2 separate regions of the Homo sapiens genome follow, and region 1 is linked to region 2. Evidence: promoter capture Hi-C in 16 types of primary human blood cells and fetal thymus (Javierre and others, 2016). All regions are on one chromosome and are shown on one strand. Each heading gives the region's core, a stretch centred on a gene start or on the middle of the fragment in contact. The rest is flanking DNA. Distances are from core to core; before and after follow the strand shown.

What was found. Contacts are between HindIII fragments. The CHiCAGO score rates a contact against its expected background, and 5 or more counts as called.
Region 1: a contact is called between the fragment with the promoter of ZNF416 here and the fragment with the promoter of ZNF155 in region 2, in 2 of 17 cell types (non-activated CD4 T cells and total CD8 T cells). The highest score is 16.0, in non-activated CD4 T cells.

Annotation. Positions count from the first base shown.
Region 1 is chr19:57,576,290-57,581,080 of GRCh38, forward strand. It overlaps ZNF416 (zinc finger protein 416), which reads right to left and starts at 2,622. Exons shown (of 4, transcript NM_017879.3): 1 at 2,383-2,622; 2 at 1,768-1,809. The coding sequence starts at 2,415. RefSeq lists a silencer at 2,312-2,531. The HindIII fragment of the contact is 6,514 bases long and covers 1-2,945 here.
Region 2 is chr19:43,982,040-43,986,388 of GRCh38, forward strand. ZNF155 (zinc finger protein 155) reads left to right here and starts at 2,149. Exons shown (of 5, transcript NM_198089.3): 1 at 2,149-2,206. RefSeq lists a silencer at 1,846-2,045. The HindIII fragment of the contact is 8,717 bases long and covers 1-4,349 here.

The sequences.
Region 1 (4,791 bases), core at 1,372-3,871, about 14 Mb after region 2:
GTTGTTCAGTTCACACTTCCTCTCCATATGCACATCACTCTTTGAAGCACACACTCTCTCAAACAATCTCACTCCCACGGCTATTTCCACCCTGTTGCCCCACACCATAGGCATCTCTCTGGCATCCCCACGATAGTTGGAATGCAACATTCAGAAAGTGCTTGGCAAACTGAAATGAGGTCCGGTGCCACTCAGGCTGAATGGTCCCCACTGCCAAAGGCAGCCCTTCAGAGACCCTGCTCTGAAGGCCTCCCTGCCTGACTCTGTCCCTTTCTACATCCTCAGTCACCCAGAAATACCTGGGGATCTGACACCGATGGCCCTCTTGCACTAGCGCTGCACTTGATGTCCTCTCTTAAGTCACAGCCTTCCTCTCCTGCTAACCCTCATTCAAAGTCTGCCCCAGGGGACCCCCACACCTCAGGCCCAATAACTCCCAGATGACCACCTGTGCCCCTCAACTTATCCACCTCCCTGAAATTCCTGACACCTCAAGGGTTGCCACAAAACCCTGGTAGATATATCCAGAGTGCTGAGTAAGCACTAGTTCTGGTCTCAGTGTCATCTTGTCTCAATTACTTCCAAGCATTGATCTCATGCCCACTCTTCTCCTAGATCCTTGGCCACTTGCCAGATCATCCTTGCTCTCACACCCTACCATAGCCACCTCTCTCCCATACCTGTCTTTGTGATTCCCACCATGACCAACCATGTCCCCAAGCAGGAGAGCCAGTAGTGACCCCCAACCTTCCTTCCCTGGGCTGGTAATAGCATTACCAAAGTGATCACGATTCCACCTCCTAATTGTGTCCCAAGCTATACCCCTAGGCAAGTAGTGGCCACCACCTTTTAAATGTCTCTATCCTGAATCCCTCAACACAGTTCTAGTCCTGTAGGATAAACTATCCACTTCATGTCTAAACTAACTGTTCTTTGAAACATCTCAGACTCTAAAAGATGTCCCATTGGGCCATGTTCAGATGATTTTTATTAAAAAATTTTAAAAATAAAGATGGTCCATATCAAAATTTCTGATTATCTCTAGAGATAACTGACTCTACTACCAACTTTACAATCCTCGCTAGTGGAGCTTCCATATTTCCAGCTGCTAAACCCAAACACCTTGCTTTTACCCCTAAATCCTACTTTTCTATCTCAAAATCCAGGCTTCCCTACTTAAAAAAACTGATCTAAAATCCAACTACCACCTCCACAGCCACCACACAAGTCCAGCCACCAGTAACACTCACCTGGACTACTGCAGCAGCCTTCTTCACTATCTTCCTATCTCATACCTCACACTCAGCCTGTTCTCTCAGCTTGGCCACACACAGGGAACCTGATGAGACCTGGATCAGATCACATACCTCCTCTGCCCCCAAACTGTCATTGCTCATCACACACTCCAGAAGAAACACCCGACAACTGACAGCCATTTTTTGTCTGATTCCTGCATCCCAGCTTTCAGTTCCCATGAGAAAGAAAACAGCTGTAGTTTCCTAAACCAGCTCAGCCTGACCTTCAAGCACTTGCTCATCTGGTATCTAAGCCTGAGACAACGTTCCACACCTTACTTTACTGGTTCCCAGCAATAGGAACCATTCTATACCAGCTTCCAGCCTGGATGTATGACCCTGGGACTGATGTTTGTTCAGGATTCCTAGAACCAAGGACCCAAAGAGTGCCAAGAGAAGAGTCCCAGAACACAATCTCAGAGACAAACACTGGGGTCAGCATCAGTGAGGGCCCGAAACACTCTCCACTCACCTGTGTAAAGCCCATAAGTTTAGCTTCTGCAGTCACGGGAACCTGCGGGAAGAGGAAGGCTATGAGAGGCAGGTAACTATGGTGGAAGCTCCATGGGCTGATGCCTCCTTGTTTCCCTGCGCAGCCCTGGAGCCAGGTGACTTGGTGATGACTAAATTATTATTGCTCCTCAGTTCCGTGTGACTCTTACCTGCTGTGGGACCTTGCACAAGGACTCAACTTCCCTGTGCCTCGGTGTTATCCCCCTTCCAGGCTGTTCCAACTCTGAGTAACTTTAGAAAAAATTTGAAAAGTCTAACTCAGACCATGTGCCTCGTCTGTTCACAACCACCCATGGCTCTCAGCGTCTTGAAAAGAAAGAGCCTCATTTTACCATTCGGGCGTGAACGTTACTGGCTCAATCGTCCCAGCAAGATTCACAGAAACCGGCCCCTCCGCCTGCCACACCCTCCACAGCCCACGACACCAGGCTTGTAAATGGGAGCCCCACCCGCGAGGGCCTCATAGTCCTGGACTCTAGGGTCGGGCTGCAGGGACGCAAGCAGGCGCCCCTCATGCAGGGTGTTGGATTTCCGGCGGAGAGGGCAGGTGAGGCCCGGGAGACGCAGCACTCACCGAAGTCGAATCCCTAAGCACGGCCGCCGCCATCGGATTGTGAGCGGAGCGGGGCCGGGAGCGGCGGGCGACCCGGGGCGGGAACCCAGGCACGGCTGCCACCAGCGCCAGCGACCCACCGGCTGATGCGCAGCGGGGCGACCCCCGCTCTGTGCCGGAGGCAGCGTTTCTAACTCAGGCGGCGTGGGCCGAGGTAGAGAACCACCAAAATTACCATCTCGGAGCGGTGCCGGAAGTCCCGCCTTACCGTATGCAACAAACGGAGACAGGTCCGTTCCTGAACGTTGATTGGCTCCGCGTCTTTGCAGCTTGGCGCTCGGCATTATGGGTAATGTAGTTCTCAGAAGCCCAGGGTTCCGGTGCCCTCCCTGAGATTCACCCGGAACAAGGGCTAAGCGGCCCGCGGAGGGCGCTAGGAAAAGGCGCGACACCAAGAGCGAGACAGGGACTTGCTGCTCCTTAAAGGGGCCGCTGGCCGATTTCCGCAGTCCCATACCCACTGAAGGGAGTGTCTGGGTTAAGATAAGAGGTTGTAGAGACCAAGGTTCTTATTAAGCAGATGAAGCTTTCACGCAGCAGGCTTCAGAGGGAATAGATTGTAAATGTTTCCTATCAGACTTTGAAAGGTGCCAGACTCTTAATTCTTTCCTGGACCATGAAAATAAAAAAACCCTGGAGAGGAAAGGGGATTCTCAGCAAAATGCAGATTCCACAAGACACACCTTTGCAGGGCCTCTTCAAAATATGTCAAATAAATAAAGTTTAGAGTAAAATACTTCAATTCCTTTCAGGGCCTGCTATCTGTCATGTAATGCTATACTACAATCAGGCTGGAATTCACTGTCTTATTGCTACAAGAAGTCTTAAAATCTCTGTTTTAATGTTAATGCTGGTCAGTTGTGCCTGAATTCCAAGGGGAGGAGGGCAAGTCTGACCCTCACTTCCCATCACGTCCTGAACTAGTTTTTCAGATTAACTTTGGAATGCCCTTGGCCAAGAGGAAGGATGCATTCAGATGGTTGGGGGGCTGGGAATTTTATTTTTGGTTTACACTTCTCATGCCTCTTGGAATCTCTGAACCACATACAACGGCCATTTGTTGAGTAAAAGCTTCCAATGCAGGAAACTGTCTCTTTCAGCCTCATGCTATACACCATTAAAACAGTAATTACTGGCAATAAGACTGGGCTTTCTTAAACATACAGGATCTCACAGACCATAAGCCTATGATCCTTCATACCAGCTGCCCATAATACTTTTGGTTTTGGAAGCAGCACCCCATAACCTCAGCATGGCTACCAAGGCCTCCTTAAGACAGGGTAGAATGAATAAGATCTAGTATTTGATAGCACAGTAGAGAGACTACAGTCAACAGTAATTTATTGTACATTAAAAACAACTAAAAGAGTATTATAACTAGAATGTTTGTAACACAAAGAAATGATAAATGCTTGTGTACCCTGATATGATTATTACACATTGTATGCCTGTATCACAATATCTCACGTATCCCATAAATATACATACATACTATGTACTCATAAAACTAAAAATTTTAAAAGACAGATAAATGGCAAGCAGGTAGATGAAAACATGCTTAACATCATTGATCACTATAAAAATGCAAATCAAAACTACAATGAGATATCATCTCACTCTAGTTAAAATGACTTTTATGCAAAAGACAGGGAATAATGAATGCTGGCCAGGACAGAGAGGAAAGGGAAACTTCATACGCTGTTGGTGGGAGTGTAAATTAGTAAAGCCACTATGGGGAACAGTTTGGAGGTTCCCCACAGAAGTAAAAATAGAATTACCATATGATACAGTTTACACCACCCAGAAAAGAAATCAGTATATCTAATAGAGATCTGCACTCCCATGTTTATTGCATCACTATTCACAACAGCCAAGATTTGGAAGCTACCTAACTGTCCATAGATAAATGGATAAAGAAAATGTGATGCATATACACAATGGAGTAGTATTTAGCCATAAAAAAAGAATGAGATCCCATCAATTGCAAGAAGACGGGTGAAATTGGAGGAAATTATGTTAAGTAAAATAAGCCAGGCACAGAAAGACAAACTTCACATGTTCTCACTTATTTGTGGGAGCTAAAAATTTAAACAATTGAACTCCCGGAGATTAAGCTTAGAAGGATGGCTACCAGAGGCTGAGAAGGATAGCAGAAATGGAAGGGAAAGTGGGGATAGTTAATGGGTGCAAAAATATAGTCAGATAGAAGGAATAAGACATAGTATTTGATAGCACAACAAGGTGACTACAGTCAACAACAATCTATTGTAGAATTAAACATAACTCACCGGGCATGGTGGCTCACGCCTGTAATCCCAGCACTTTGGGAGGCCGAGGCGGGCAGATCACAAGGTCAGGAGATCGAGACCA
Region 2 (4,349 bases), core at 899-3,398:
ATATATCCTCAGTCTAAAGACAAAAAGAACTATAAAAAATGTTGAACTCTACTTTTGCATTGTTTTTTACAATGATATGAATTAGTAACTCTGACACTGCATGATGCGTATGCAATGGTCTTAATGTTTGTGGCCCACCAAAATCCATATATTGTAATTTTTACCCTCAATGTGATGGTAATAGGAGGTGGGGCCTTTGGAGGGTGATTAGGTCACGGGATGAATACCCTTATAAAAAATGCCAGAAGGAGCTTGTTTGTCACTTCAACCAAATGAAGACACAGCAATATGGTGCTAACTATGAACAAGAAAGTGGCCAACTACCTGACACAAAATCTGCCAGTGCTTTGATCTTGGATCCCAGTTTCCAGATCTGTGAAGAATAGATTTCTGTTGCTTAAAAGCCGGCCGGGCGTGGTCGCTCACGCCTGTAATCCCAGCACTTTGGGAGGCCGAGGTGGGCGGATCACAAGGTCAGATCGAGACCATCCTGGCTAACACGGTGAAACCTCTTCTCTACCAAAAATACAAAAAAATTAGCCGGGCATGGTGGCGAGCACCTGTAGTCCCAGCTACTCGGGAGGCTGAGACAGAAGAATGGCATGAACCTGGGAGGCAGAGCTTGCAGTGAGCCGAGATCGCGCCACTGCACTCTAGCCTGGGCGACAGAGCAAGACTCCGTCTCAAAAATAAAATAAAATAAAATAAAATAAAATAAAATAAAATAAAATAAAATAAAATAAAAGCCAGGCAGGCTATGATATTTTGTGACTAAAAAATATTGGTACTGAGAGGTGGGCTTGCTGCTGCAACAAATACCTAAAAATGTAGCAGTCTTTGGAACTATGTAATGGATAGAGTCTAGAAGAGTTTTTACATGTATGCTAGGAAAAGCCTACATTGCCATGAATGGACTGATAAGGACAATTCTGGTTAGCGCTCAGAAATAGAGAATAAGAACTGTAGAGAAAACATCAATCTTGTTAGAGCATACCTAGGTAGTCATGATCAGAATGTTGGTAGAAATATGGACAGTAAAGGCCATTCTGAAGACCTCAGTCAGAAATGTTGAACATGTTATTGGAAGAGAAGAGAGCTTCTTGTTATAAAGGGACAAAGAATTTGGCTGAATTATATTCAGGTGCTAGTGTTTTATGGAAGGTAGAATTTGTGAATGATATAATTGTTTATCTGAATTAATTTCTAATCAAAGTGTTGAAGTTGCTTGAATCATCTTGACTACCCGTAGTGAAAGGCACGAAGTGAGGAATGACTGAAATAATTATTAATTAAAAGGGAAACAGAACTAAAATTTTTAAAAGTTTACAGCCTATCTACTTTGGAAAAAAAAAAAAACAGGAAACCTGAAGAATACAAGGGTATGGTTAAGCAACTAACTAATTCATGAATTTAGTATGGATTGGCCATGTCAACTGAAGCCAGGACCTATTGTCCAAGACAATGGAAGAATGACCCCAAAGGCATTTCACAGATTATGGCAGCTTCTCCTCCCATCACAGGCCCAGAGTGCAAGGACCTGGGGGACAGAAAGGGCCTTTGATGCCAGATATACCCTAATATATTAGGCACAGTTTCCTGCCTACTACGATTGAGCGTGTCAATAAATTTTTATCTCTTGGGAGGGCAGAACAGAGCAAGGATACAGCTGTAACTGGTTTAGAAATAGCAGTCACTCAATTTTCAGAGAAGTGTTCCTCATACTGTGGTTGGCACAGTCACTTTATCTAAAGAAAACCATGAAAAGTATTCTTTTTTAGTTTAGAAAAATTGATATAGAACATGAGACTCCATTTTTTTAAAATAAAAATATAGGTTGATAGGCCAGAATTCACAGGTCCACCTGCCTGAGCCAAAATTCTCACGCCTCCACAGAGCAAATGGACTCCATTTCCCAAGATACCAGCGAAACGCCTGCGGGAGTCTAATTGCCCGGTCGATGCGCAGGAAATTTGGCTCCCGCAGGCGTTTCGCGAGTAGCTTGGGAGGCGTGGGAATTTTGGCCCAGGCAGGAGGACCTGTGAATTCTGGGAAGTGGAGTCCATTTGCTCTGTGGAGTCGTGGGAACTTTGGCTCAGGCAGGCGGATTCGGGGGATTCTGGGAAGTGTAGTCCAGACGCCTGTGGCATCATCGACACTTCCGGTCTCCGAGCAGGACACTGCTACTTAACAAGGTGGTTTGAGCCAAGTATGTGTCTTGCGGGTCTTTGCGAAAGTGAACCAGTTATTAGGGGCGCCTAACGACCTGGGGGGTCAACTAAGGGGGTAAGAAGCCCTGGAGAAGACCTGAGGTTTGGAGATGCGAGGGGTGGGAGGGAAGTTTCGTTGCCGTCGATGGAGCCTTCTGGCGTTGGGGGCTGTACTCAGGTCCACCGGAGGAGTCGTCGGGGGTTCGGGGGGGGCGGGGAAGAACTCTGTCTAGTCTTGTGTGCCTGTTTAGAGGGTTTTCCAGGTGTTTGACCTCGTTCAGTCCGCCTCCCTCCACTCTTAAGTGTGCGACCTCTTTCTCGCGATATAACGTGGGGTGTTACTTAATCTCCCTGTACCTCCCATTGCCGTTTTTTAAATGAGGATTTCAGGACCATCCTGATAGAATTGTTTTAGGAGTTGAAAGTTGTGGTATAAAACAAAGACTTAACAGCTCCTGTCACTTGGTGTCCTGTTAATTTCCCGCGAAGTGGTCAGGTGCCCGGGTGGGGTCAGAGCTCCAGCTGCTCCGGCCCTTCTCTTGGAGCCCGGCAGGGCTCTGGATGATCCCGGACGCCTCTGACCTCTTTTTAGGAAGGCGTGGGTTGCATCCACGTTTCACGAAGGGAGAGGAGCATTTAACTTGTATCCGGGACGGCGACGCAGAGTGTTTGACAGCTTTCTCCTTCCCCAGCCTGACTTTTCTAAAAGAGCTGCAGGGAGGGACTTGGCTACTGAGGACAAAGCTGTCTACACGAGTGGTCTTTGGCTTTTCTCTTTTTAAAAAAAAGTTATTTATTTTGTTAGTCTGTTTTTATTATTGTTATTATTTGAGAATGAGGTTTGCTCTGTCTCCCAGGCTGGAGTGCAGCAGTGGCGCGATCTTGGCTCACTGCAACCTCCGCCTCCTGGGTTCAAGCGATTCTCTGTCCTCAGCTCCGGAGTAGCTGGGATTACAGGCATGCGTCACCATGCCCGGCTAATTTTTGTATTTTTAGTAGAGACGGGGTTTCACCATGTTGGCCAGGCTGGTCTCGAACCTGTGGTCCTAAGTGATCCGCCTGCCTCGGCCTCCCAAAGTGCTGGAATTACAGGTGTGAGCCACCGCGCCGGGCCGGTTTTTTCTTTTACAGAGATGTTCACCTCAACCAAGAGTGTATAGGATGTGTCCTTGGGCATGGGTGTTGATAATAATTAAACCTTAATTGGTAACTTAATTCTAAGGGCTTTATGGAAATAAATACATTTACGCCACACCATGGCTCTGTGGAAAGGTATTGCTCTTTTTCTTTTTTTTTTTTTTTTTTTTTTCCTGAGACGGAGTCTCGCTCTGTCGCCCAGGCTAGAGTGCAGTGGCGCGATCTGGGCTCAGTGCAATAGGCCGCCTCCCAGGTTCAGGCGATTCTCCTGCTTCAGCCTCCTAAGTAGCTGGGATTACAGGTGCGCACCACCACGCCCAGCTAATTTTTGTATTTTTAGTAAAGATGGGGTTTCACCGTTTTGGTCAGGCTGGTCTGAAACTCCTGACCTCGTGATCCGACCGCCTTGGCCTCCGAAAATGCTGGGATTACAGGCGTGAGCCACCGCGCCCGGTCGCTCTTTTCCATTTTAAATATGGGAGTGAGACACCTGGTGCTTAGTTCCCAGTAGAATGAGGTACAGCTGGAGCTGGAACCTAGGCAGTTTGGGTCAGAGCCTGAGTTGATCATCCCTTGGATACATTTTCATTGAGGTAGAGGAACTAGCTGGAATCAGGTGGGGAAAGAGAGTTAGGACTTGATTGAAGGGACCTTGAGAGCAAGGCTCATAGACTTGGACTTCTGTAGGAGTCTTTTAAAAATTTGTCAACATCCTGTTTCACTTTTTATAAGGATTTTGTATTGTGGAACCATATCATTGTGGAGCATTTTAAAATTAGATTAATAGGAGGAGAAAACATGTTTTAAATTACCCATGAATCCAAGATGTGAAGGTGCTAACTGTCTGATACAAGAGATGGAACTTCCAGTTCTCCTCCGTTTCTTTTTAGTCTTTCTCTGTGTCTATTGTATATTTATTTATAAGCATTTAAAAAAATTGTTATAATATCTTAATGTGTTTTCCCATATTTCTTTAACTATGGAAATTTTTAAATACTGCTAATA